2 separate regions of the Homo sapiens genome follow, and region 1 is linked to region 2. The links are contacts of gene promoters, found by promoter capture Hi-C in blood cells and fetal thymus (Javierre and others, 2016). All regions are on one chromosome and are shown on one strand. The core of a region is centred on a gene start or on the middle of the fragment in contact, and the rest is flanking DNA. Distances in the headings are between cores, read along the strand shown.

Region 1 (4,710 bases), core at 1,723-4,222, 45 kb before region 2:
GCTGGTGCCACAGGAGGTTAACTCTTTGGACTGCATCTCCATCAATACCTTGCTGGTAAGCATCCATTGGGCTTGTCAGTGAGAGCCATTGCCAGGAGATCAGATTATATGAGAGGGAAGGAGAAGCAAGGCTGGAGGAATTTTTCCCTTCTTGTTCCCTGTGTCATGTCCCCCAAAATGGCTCTGTCCCTTCCAGGGGACAGCAGCTCCCTGACAGCCCAGGCTCTCACAGGGAGAGGTGGTAACAGCTTTCTTCTCTCTCAAGTCTCTGGGAGCCTTACCCCACGTTTATGTCCTCAGTAAGTAGTCCCTTTACTTAAGCCCCATCATCTGAAACAAATGGGGTGGATTCTGCTTCCTGCTTAGACCTTGACTAAACTACCAACTTAACCTTCTCAGGTGCAATTTACCAATTAGATCCCCCCTCTAGTTTAGTGGTTCTCACTCTTTGCTGTGCACAGGGATCACCTTAGCACCTGTGATCCGTCCCCAGAAGTTCTGATGTAATTGGACTGGAAAGTAGCCTCGGGATCAGGATTTTAAAAATCTCTCCAGGACATTTGATTGGGTAGCCAAGGCTGATAAGCCCTGCTCCAGACTCATATACCTCCTGTACAGAAAGGAGAATTCTAACACGTAGTGAAAACAACTTCCTATAACCTGCGTTTTATTTCTTACTTTCTTACAAATTATTGCAGCCTTCATTCTAAAGGGATGTTGTTTTCTACTTATTCACAAAAGCTTTTTAAAACAAAGTGGAACAATTTTAAACACATTTACATAACTGTTTCTTCAAGAGGTTCAAAACAAAGAACAGATATTTCTAGAAAGCATAGAAATCCACTATATACACTTTTATTTTGAATAAGGTGTGTGCAAGGGTGATGGCAGTGGCTGCTGCCATCATGCCAGCTGCAGCAGGGAAGCGCAGCTGGGGCTGTACACTCCCTGGAGCCAGGGGGAACCCTGCCCATTCTGAGTTGGGACAGGACCTCCCCATGTGGCTACAGCCACCCAAACCACAGCTGCAGACCCAGGCCTCCTGCTCTAGGGAGCAGGAAGGAGCGCCCCCTACTGGGTGAGGCTACAGCAGCCCAAAATGCAGCTGTGGATCGGAGCCTTCCTGTGCTCTTGGGAGAAACGGGAACAGGCAGGATCTGCCTTCCGAGGTGCAGTTGCAGCTGCCTCATTCGCGGCTGCAGACCTGGGCCTCCTGCTCCAGGAAGCAGGCAGAAGCTGGGGACAAGTGGGAGTCCTGCCTCTTCTGAGTTGGTGGGGCGGGAGCTCCTGGGTGCAGCTGCACTGCCCTCCCAGGCACAGGACCTGGGCATCTCTGTAGCCTACACCCTCGAGTGCCCCAGGAAGGACCCCTGTCCCTGCAGGCTTAGGGGTGTCTGCTCCCAGTGCCTGGCCTCTCCTCCCAAGGCCCGCTCCAATCTCCCAGCGGGGTTGGGGGCCAAGTCCCAGCGGGAGGCTGACAGAATCCTGGGTAGAAGGAAGAGGGTCCCCAGTAAGGGCCCACCCTCAGGCCAGGGAGAGCCTGAAGACTAGGGGCTGGGCTGCCAGTCCCGTGAACTGGAGTAGGGACTCATGGGCCTGGAAGAGTCCAGGCCCACCCATGGCCGCCCATGGACCAACTGGCATACATTTCCTTCCTTCTGAGGTCCATAAAAGCCCTGGGCTCAACCAGAGCAGGGCAGAAGATGGCCAGAAGACAAAGAGAGCAGAGAGATGATGGGACTGGATGACCAGCTGCAGAGAAGAGTACCCTGTCCACTGAGAGCCTCAGAGATGACCTGCCAGCAGAAGGGAGCTACCCACTCCTCTGAGTTGCTCTAACACTAAATAAAACTCTTCTTCACTCTTCACTTGTGTACCTCACTCTTCCTGGATGCAGGACAAGAATTTGGGCAAAGGTGCTGTGGCCACAGGGGTTCCCGGCAAGAAAAAAATCAACACCCCAGAAATCGCCTACCAAGGGTAAGTTTTTCAGGAAAGAAAAAAGAGAATTAAAGAGCCATCGGGGGATATCACAAGAAAAAAAAAATGGCAGGATTAGTAACTGTTGAAAAACTACTATCTTACAAATATAATAATAGAGATTCTAGTGCCATGTAATTAACTCATGCCAGGTCCATGACTGATCTGGGTTTGCCGATCTTCTCTGAGAATGAACCAGGTTAAAGCACTCACAGCTTCTAGCACATTAAAATAAGCAGTGGCTACTGGCCTCATGAGAATCTTTAAAGTGTTCAATGTTTAAAACACCCTTGCCATTTTTAAGATACAAGAGAACCTCAACCACACTCTTACTTTAAAATGCAATTGCTTTTTTTTTTTTTTTTTTTTTTTTTTTGAGACGGAGTCTCGCTCTGTCGCCCAGGCCGGACTGCGGACTGCAGTGGCGCAATCTCGGCTCACTGCAAGCTCCGCTTCCCGGGTGCAATTGCTTTTTAAACACACATTTGTTGACGGTGGTAGAATTTAATATTTTTGAGAAAGAACTGATTCTACAAAGCTTTTTCTCATTTTGAGGGTCCCAGGAATGTTGCATCTAAATAAATGCTGTGCCTGTACCAGTCAGCTATTGCTACATTGGCCTCTGGCATGCAGCAAAGAGCATTTATTTCTCATTCACAGTTTGTGAGTCATTGGGGCAGGTCAGCTGGGGTGACTCATTTTTCTCCTGGGACCAGTGAGCAGCCCAGGTTTATTTCTTCTAACAACCCATTAGCCAAAGAAAGCCACATGGCTGTGCTCACATACAAGGTCAGGGGAAATACATTCCATCTTTAGTGGGAGGCACTGCAAGGTTACATGGCCAGGGGTGTGGATACAGAGAGAGATGAAGAATTGGGGCCAATAATTCACTTTACCACCGTCCCTAAAGCAAAAGTCTGTCGAAGATGACATCTCAATACTGTATTTACAAGTAGAACATCTTGCTCTAGAGTGATGTCACTGACAAGTTCTAGAACCCTGTAGGTAAGAGGACTTTTTGTGTCCAGACAGATGGCAATACTCATCCGTATGTTGTCTGCCCCAGGGCAAGGTAGGTGATGCTGGCTTTTCTTAGCTACCCTACCTCCAGAATACCAAAATGATCTCCAAAGAAGTAATCAGGGTTTGAGGGGAGGAGGAGAGCATTGAACAGGTGGTGCATAGAGAATTTTTGGGGCAGTGAAACTATCCTGTGTGATACTGTAATTGTGGATACATGGCACTATGCTTTTGTCATAACCCATAGAACTTTATAGCACAAAGAGTGAACCTCAATGTATGTGAATTTTTAAAAAATCATTTGGGAGGTCAGGGATACCATTTGGGATGCCCAAGGTGTAGAGATACATTAAAAACTTAAGATGCATGCACAGACACGTCTGCAGTCGTGAAAAACTCAAGTCCTACACAAAACTTTGCTACCAAAATTTGAAGAAGAAGAAGACGAATAGTATAAAAACAACATTCATGGGTGATCCACAACTTGAATCAATAGAAATTTATTGACTGTTGTGAAATAAAGTTACATAGAATACAAGAGTCTATGCTAACAGAAATACAATGGCACTCACACCATGATCCGACTCTTGCTTCCTTGATCTCTTTTTGCGTGACTTTTCCCTGTCCCCGGCCAACTCACTATGTATGTGTCAACCACTCCACCTTCTTCCAGTTCCTAGAACACCAAAATCATTCCTATCTTGAGGCCCTTGCCTTGCTGTTCTCTAAGCCTGGAAAGGTCTTGTCCCATCTCTCCATGTGGCTGGCTCCTTCTCCTCTTGAAGTTTCATTTCAAATAGGAGCCTCTTGGTGCCTCCCTCTAGAATCGAAGCTCCATTACTGTCTTTCACTAGTGCATTATCCCCATCCCCTAAAGCCCTGCTTGGCACGTAGGAGGTGCTCAATAAATATTTGTGGACCAAAGGGGCTACTCATTTATTAATATTTGGCTCAAGGCCCTGATGGAGTATGGACCTCTGCTTTGGAATGGATGCTGTGAGGACAGTCAGGAAGTCCCACACTGCACACACTAAACCAAGAGAGAGTCCACGTAAAGCTCCTGGGTGGCCACTGCAACAGTCTTAAGCACTCTAAGAAAGGCATAAAAGCAGATTAATGCTCAAGTATTGACCCACATCTGCAAAGGACGTTGGGGCAGGGAGACGCTTAGCTGATAAATAGAAAACTACCCCTGTCTAAAGCAGGGATGGTTGGGATATGACTGCCTTGATGCAAAACAGGAGCAGGAAATAGGACAGGCCCAAACAAGGGCTCAAAAAAGAAAGAAAGAAAGAAAGAAAGCCAAAGCGGCAATAACAACAACAAACTCTTGCTGCTGGTGGGAAACCTACAGGGCAAGCTCCTTCTCCACATGAGCCCTGCTGGCAGTTGTTTGTATGTGTGTGTGTGTGTGTGTGCATGCACACGCGTAAGAGCACATGCAGGGGATGTAGTGAAAAGCACAGTGTGAAATGAGGAAATAAAGGATATCTTCTCAGTCAGTAGCCATGGGAAGAACCGGGAAGTACAAGGTCCTGAGAGCACAGAGATGATGGAATTTTTATATATTGGGAGAGGAACCCAAATCTAGTAATGACAATGTGTGATAAAAACTACTAGTATGATGAAAAACAGTATATTTCCAAAACTAACATTAGAGGGGAAAATGAAGAAAATCAGTAAAACTAAAAAGAACAAACAGCAAATAGC
Region 2 (4,622 bases), core at 532-3,031:
AGTCATCAGTCACCATCAACCTCATCCTATTTCGGACCAAACCTGGGCAGTGGGGACACATCAAGCCTACCATTTGGAGGGTGACTCTCCCAGCAGTGGGGAATGAAGTGGCACAGAGTAGCCATTAGAGGCCCAAGCCTGGAGGTAAAGGGGCGAATTCACCTGGGGGAAAAAGAGCTTTGGAGGCAGAATCAAAGAGACCTGGTGATCAAACTGCAGTCTCAAGGAAGCTGCCTTCCCTTCTAAATTGAGCAGCTAGGACCCTCTTAACTGAACTCTCAAAGTCTGGAAGGTTTGAGGAGGACAAGGAGTGTGATTTTGCACATGTCAAGTTGGAGGCCCTGCTGTGACACCCACATGGAACTGTCTGGTAGACAGTTAGATATTCTGGTCTGAAAAAGTAGGAAGAAAGTCCAAGTCAGAGATAAAGGTTAGAGAGTTGTTGGCACCTTTATGCAGCACTTGAAGCCCTGTGCAGGATATGGTCACAAAGAGAAGGTAAGCCTAGAAGGATCAATCCTGGGGGACTCCAACAGTTCCCAGACAAGAAGGGGATGAAATGGGGAGACAGTGGGAAAACAGGGTGGTTAGAAAGGGAAGAGAAGCATCCAAAGGGGTGCTGTCGGGATGCTAGGAGGGGATCCTCCCTCCTCTGTCTCTCCTGTTTGCCTTCCCATCATATAGAAACTGAGTGTATTAGATATTTTCTGCACTAATTAAGTATTTTCATTTTCCATTCTTAATTTACAACGGAATGAATTGGAATGAAAATATGCATTTCATTCACTCTTTTGGGAGCACAATTCTAGGGAATTTGTACTTGAACAATCCTTCACTGCTCCATAGCCACTGTGGAATCACAGTTACCCAACTATACAGCAGCAATGGCCAATTATTGCCACAAGAGACTATGATGGAGCTGACTACACGGTAATCATGCCACTAGCGTCACAGCTAGAGTGGTTCTCCCTCCACAGACCCAAAAGGCTGAACTGGTGAACCTGCTGCATCTGTGGGCAGAATTAGGATGAAAAGCACTACCTCTGTGAAATACAAAATCTCTGTGGAAGAAAAATCAATTCAGGTTAGAGGCGGCAGCTGAAGGCCATGGCTCCCAGCCTGGTGCGACAGCCCAGGGAGGGCGTCTGCCTCTGCAGACACAGCTGGGACTCCATTCAGCAGCCAACCCTTCCCCCACTTTCCTTGCTGTTTCCAAGATCCTATATGGGGATCGGGACTCAGGCAGGACCTGTTCTCTTCAGAGCTTCCAGGACTTCTCTTTCTTCTTTGCCTTTGGCCCTGTTTTCCTTGGAAAATCACCAGTTCTTCCTTTTTTCCTGTCCCCTCTTAGCCAGGCACTTCCTCGAGTGTTTAAAAACCCTGCGCGTTTTAGGGAGCGGGGATTTGGCAAAGGTTATGCGAAGGACTGAAAAGGGGCAGCGTCATGAAGGCCCTGTCATTCTCCCTGACTCCCCGTCTTTTCCTCAGTTGAGCATACTCCTAAGAGCGATGCCACACCCTTAAATACTAAGGCCCCTTTTTCTCAACAGGACCCTTTCCCCGGGAAAGACCCCAGCCCCGCCCCGCAGACCGGCAGAGTCTGCTGTCTTACTTGGCTGGAGGTTGTGGTGGCAGAGAGAGGGATCCGGAGCCCTGGGCCCAGGCTGTTCCATTCTGCCCCAGGAGGCGGCCGCGGGGCCCTGGCTCCAGCTATCTCAGCGCTTGCGGGAGCCGCGGGCTGCTTTGTGACGCGTCGCCATGGAGACAAGGATCGGGTTCCAGGGAGTTCTGCCCCTGCCAAGGGGTGCTGGCCACGCAGGAGGCTTAACCTGGCCGGCGCGGGAATGGGGTGCAGAGAGCAAAGAAATGTGGCTTTGATCTTATGGATGCCTTACTTTTACATTATTTGTACAGTTCTTGCAGTGAGCTTTCCGGACCACTGTCTTGTATGTTTCCTAAGAAAAGCAAAAAGGGAAGAGATTGAAGAGAAAGTAGATTTTCAACTACAAACTTTCATCCATTTGCTTTCAGCTTAAGCAAATGTGCGCAAAGTTGTCATGGATTTTTGCAGTCAATAAAAACCAAGCAAGAAGACTGAATCCCAAGTCATCTGGTATAAATGGAAGCAGTTTCTGTGATAGTTCCACGCGGTCAGAAGGGTCATCCTGGCTTAGGAGAGGGGCAGAAGAGGAAATGCACGCGTGGAAACAGGAGTGGGCAGGGAGGATGTGACACTGTCCTCCTCACCAGGCCACGTTCCTGGCACCAACCATAGTGTTTGTGAGGGTCAATTTAATTGTTCTTGTGCTCTCATAGAGGAAGCTGTGTCTTTCATCCCCTTGTAAGAGTTTTCACTGATGAAGGGGGTCTTTTATCTTCATATCTTGGGAACTACTGAAACTGTTTCAAAGAGTCAAAGACACCAATAACTAACAGAAATTCTTGTTTTCAGGGGCAGATAAGAAAAGAAACAATTTGCTGAAACTCCCTCTGCTTATAACAAAACTGACTGAAATCAGCCGGAATCAATATGGCCAAATGCAGTTTGCGCACAGCAAGCTTGCTGATGTCACAGCCTGAATTTCTACTGCATGTTTCATACCAACTCCCTCCAAATTTGCACATGGGACCCACCAGGAAGCATGAAGAGAGAGCCATGCATGCCTGAAGACTTCCCAGATGTTCCCTTTGCTTCCACCAATCACCTGCTAACCCCAGGATCCAACCCTAAACCTTTTGTAATAAAATTACTGCCCTAAAGCCAGTACAAGACAGATTTGAACTGGACTTTTGTTTCCTCAGAAGTTAACTTGCAATGTGAAGCTTTCCTTTTCTCAAAAACTTGGTGTCATAGTGTTGGCTTCTAGTGCAGTGAGCCCCTTTTGCTGGATAACCTTACCTGGTAATTTGACATACTAGGTGGTTAGTAACTACTGACTGTCTCCAGGTTACAACACAGTTATTACCCACTTGGGTGAAAAGAGAAGACAGGAAATACATTTTGGAGTTGGCTGGCAACCTGTTTACAAAGCAATTTACAACAGTTCCTTATTCTTAAGGGGCTATTCTAATACAAGACCTCAGAGAAACAGTGCAGTGTGACAAAGGAGGAATTTATCAAAGGAGACAGAAAAAGCATCAAGGTAAGGATCCCAAATATATGTGCAAGGAATGTCTTTAAAATGAAGAGCTAAACTAGAATTTCCTGAAGGTAGAGTTCTATCCATATAATGGAATGAATATAACACATTATAAACTCTCATGTTTTGAAGCAATGGAGGGTGGAACACATTAGAAGGCATAGATGTTATTAAAAGGAATGAGTCTAAATTAGGATTTAGTAGTGGCATCTAAATTTAAAAAGTAGCACCCAATAACAGATTACTGTCTGGAAATGGTAGAGCTAATTAGCATAGCATAATTTAAGAGAAATATATGTTTAAAATAGAGCAGCAAGTATATAGAATTTTGAAAGTGAATTCTTATTAATATCTTACAATTTGTCTCATTTTAGGCAAGCTGTGAAATGGTGCGGTAGGAACCAAATAGAGAGCCAAAGGATCTTTCTGTCACTGCAGGCCCTTAGGGGTAAGCAAATCCTTCCCTGATCCCTGGTCTCCTTATCTGTAAATGAGAATACCAGCACCCACCTCACTGTGCTGTAAACATGATGAGTTCTAACAATAATTTATAAATTGTAAAATCACACAAATCTAAGATATTGCTCTTGTTGCTATTCTGATCTTCATTCCTTTTATAGTCTTTCTACTTCAAAGTGTATTTTTGCGTGGGTCCATTTTATGGCTAGCGGTATAGCACTATTCCTGCCTTTGAATTCTGGTTGCCTGAGGCAACCCTTCTAAATGATTAAGTAGAGTATTTCCCCCCTGCTTTCTTCTCTCCCTCAACAAATACTGACTGTGCACTGAATATGAGCTGTATGATGGCATCGGGGCAACACCCTGATTATTATAGTGAACAACTTCCTAGAAAAGGAGGTGCCTGAGCTGGGTCCTCAAGGATGCTTGGAGTCAACCAGGTGAATAGGGGGAGGTGACAGGTGACACAAAGTAACGCAAGGGCCCAGAGGCATGGAACACTGTGTGTAGTCCCAAGACCTTTAGTAGTTTAATATTGCCATATTGTAAAGTGTGTCAGGGGAAACTGAGAGCCGGCTGGGGTGGAAGGCCCTGCAGGCCATCCTGAGAAGCTTGGACTTCACCTGAGCATGCTTGGGTTAAACAATGCAGTGCAGGGGCCAGGTTGGAAGTTTAAGTAAATCCTGGCCTCTCATTCCAGAAGGAGGAGAGGCAAAATTCCACAACATTCTGCCAGAGTAAGTTAATCATTCAGAAATTAAAGCATCTAGGTTACTAATTTAGGTTACTGATATCTCTTTAGCAGAGTTTCAAATTGATCCAAAACAATTGAGAATAGTTGTATTGAATGGGTTAAATGTTAATTGGTTGTTTTCAGTTGAAGTGATTACAGCCAAGCGAGGTGGCTCATGCTTGTAATCCCAATACTTTGGGAGTCCAAGGCAAGAGGATCCTTTGAGCCTAGAAGTTTGAGACAAGCCTGGACAACATAGGGAGACCCCGTTTCTACAAAAAATGAAAAAA

Evidence for each region. The method cuts DNA at HindIII sites, captures the fragments that hold promoters and counts their contacts. A CHiCAGO score of 5 or more calls a contact.
Region 1: the fragment with the promoter of TEX26-AS2 here is called in contact with the fragment with the promoter of TEX26-AS1 in region 2 in 17 of 17 cell types (total CD4 T cells, activated CD4 T cells, neutrophils and 14 more); the score reaches 35.3 in total CD4 T cells.

The regions. Positions count from the first base shown.
Region 1 is chr13:30,975,902-30,980,611 of GRCh38, reverse strand. TEX26-AS2 (TEX26 antisense RNA 2) reads left to right here and starts at 2,972. Exons shown (of 3, transcript XR_941820.3): 1 at 2,972-3,052. The HindIII fragment of the contact is 6,328 bases long and covers 2,521-4,710 here.
Region 2 is chr13:30,929,767-30,934,388 of GRCh38, reverse strand. It overlaps TEX26-AS1 (TEX26 antisense RNA 1), which reads left to right and starts at 1,781. Exons shown (of 4, transcript NR_038287.1): 1 at 1,781-3,143; 2 at 3,515-3,588. It overlaps TEX26 (testis expressed 26), which reads right to left and starts at 1,733. Exons shown (of 7, transcript NM_152325.3): 1 at 1,613-1,733. The coding sequence starts at 1,673. The HindIII fragment of the contact is 4,425 bases long and covers 1-2,561 here.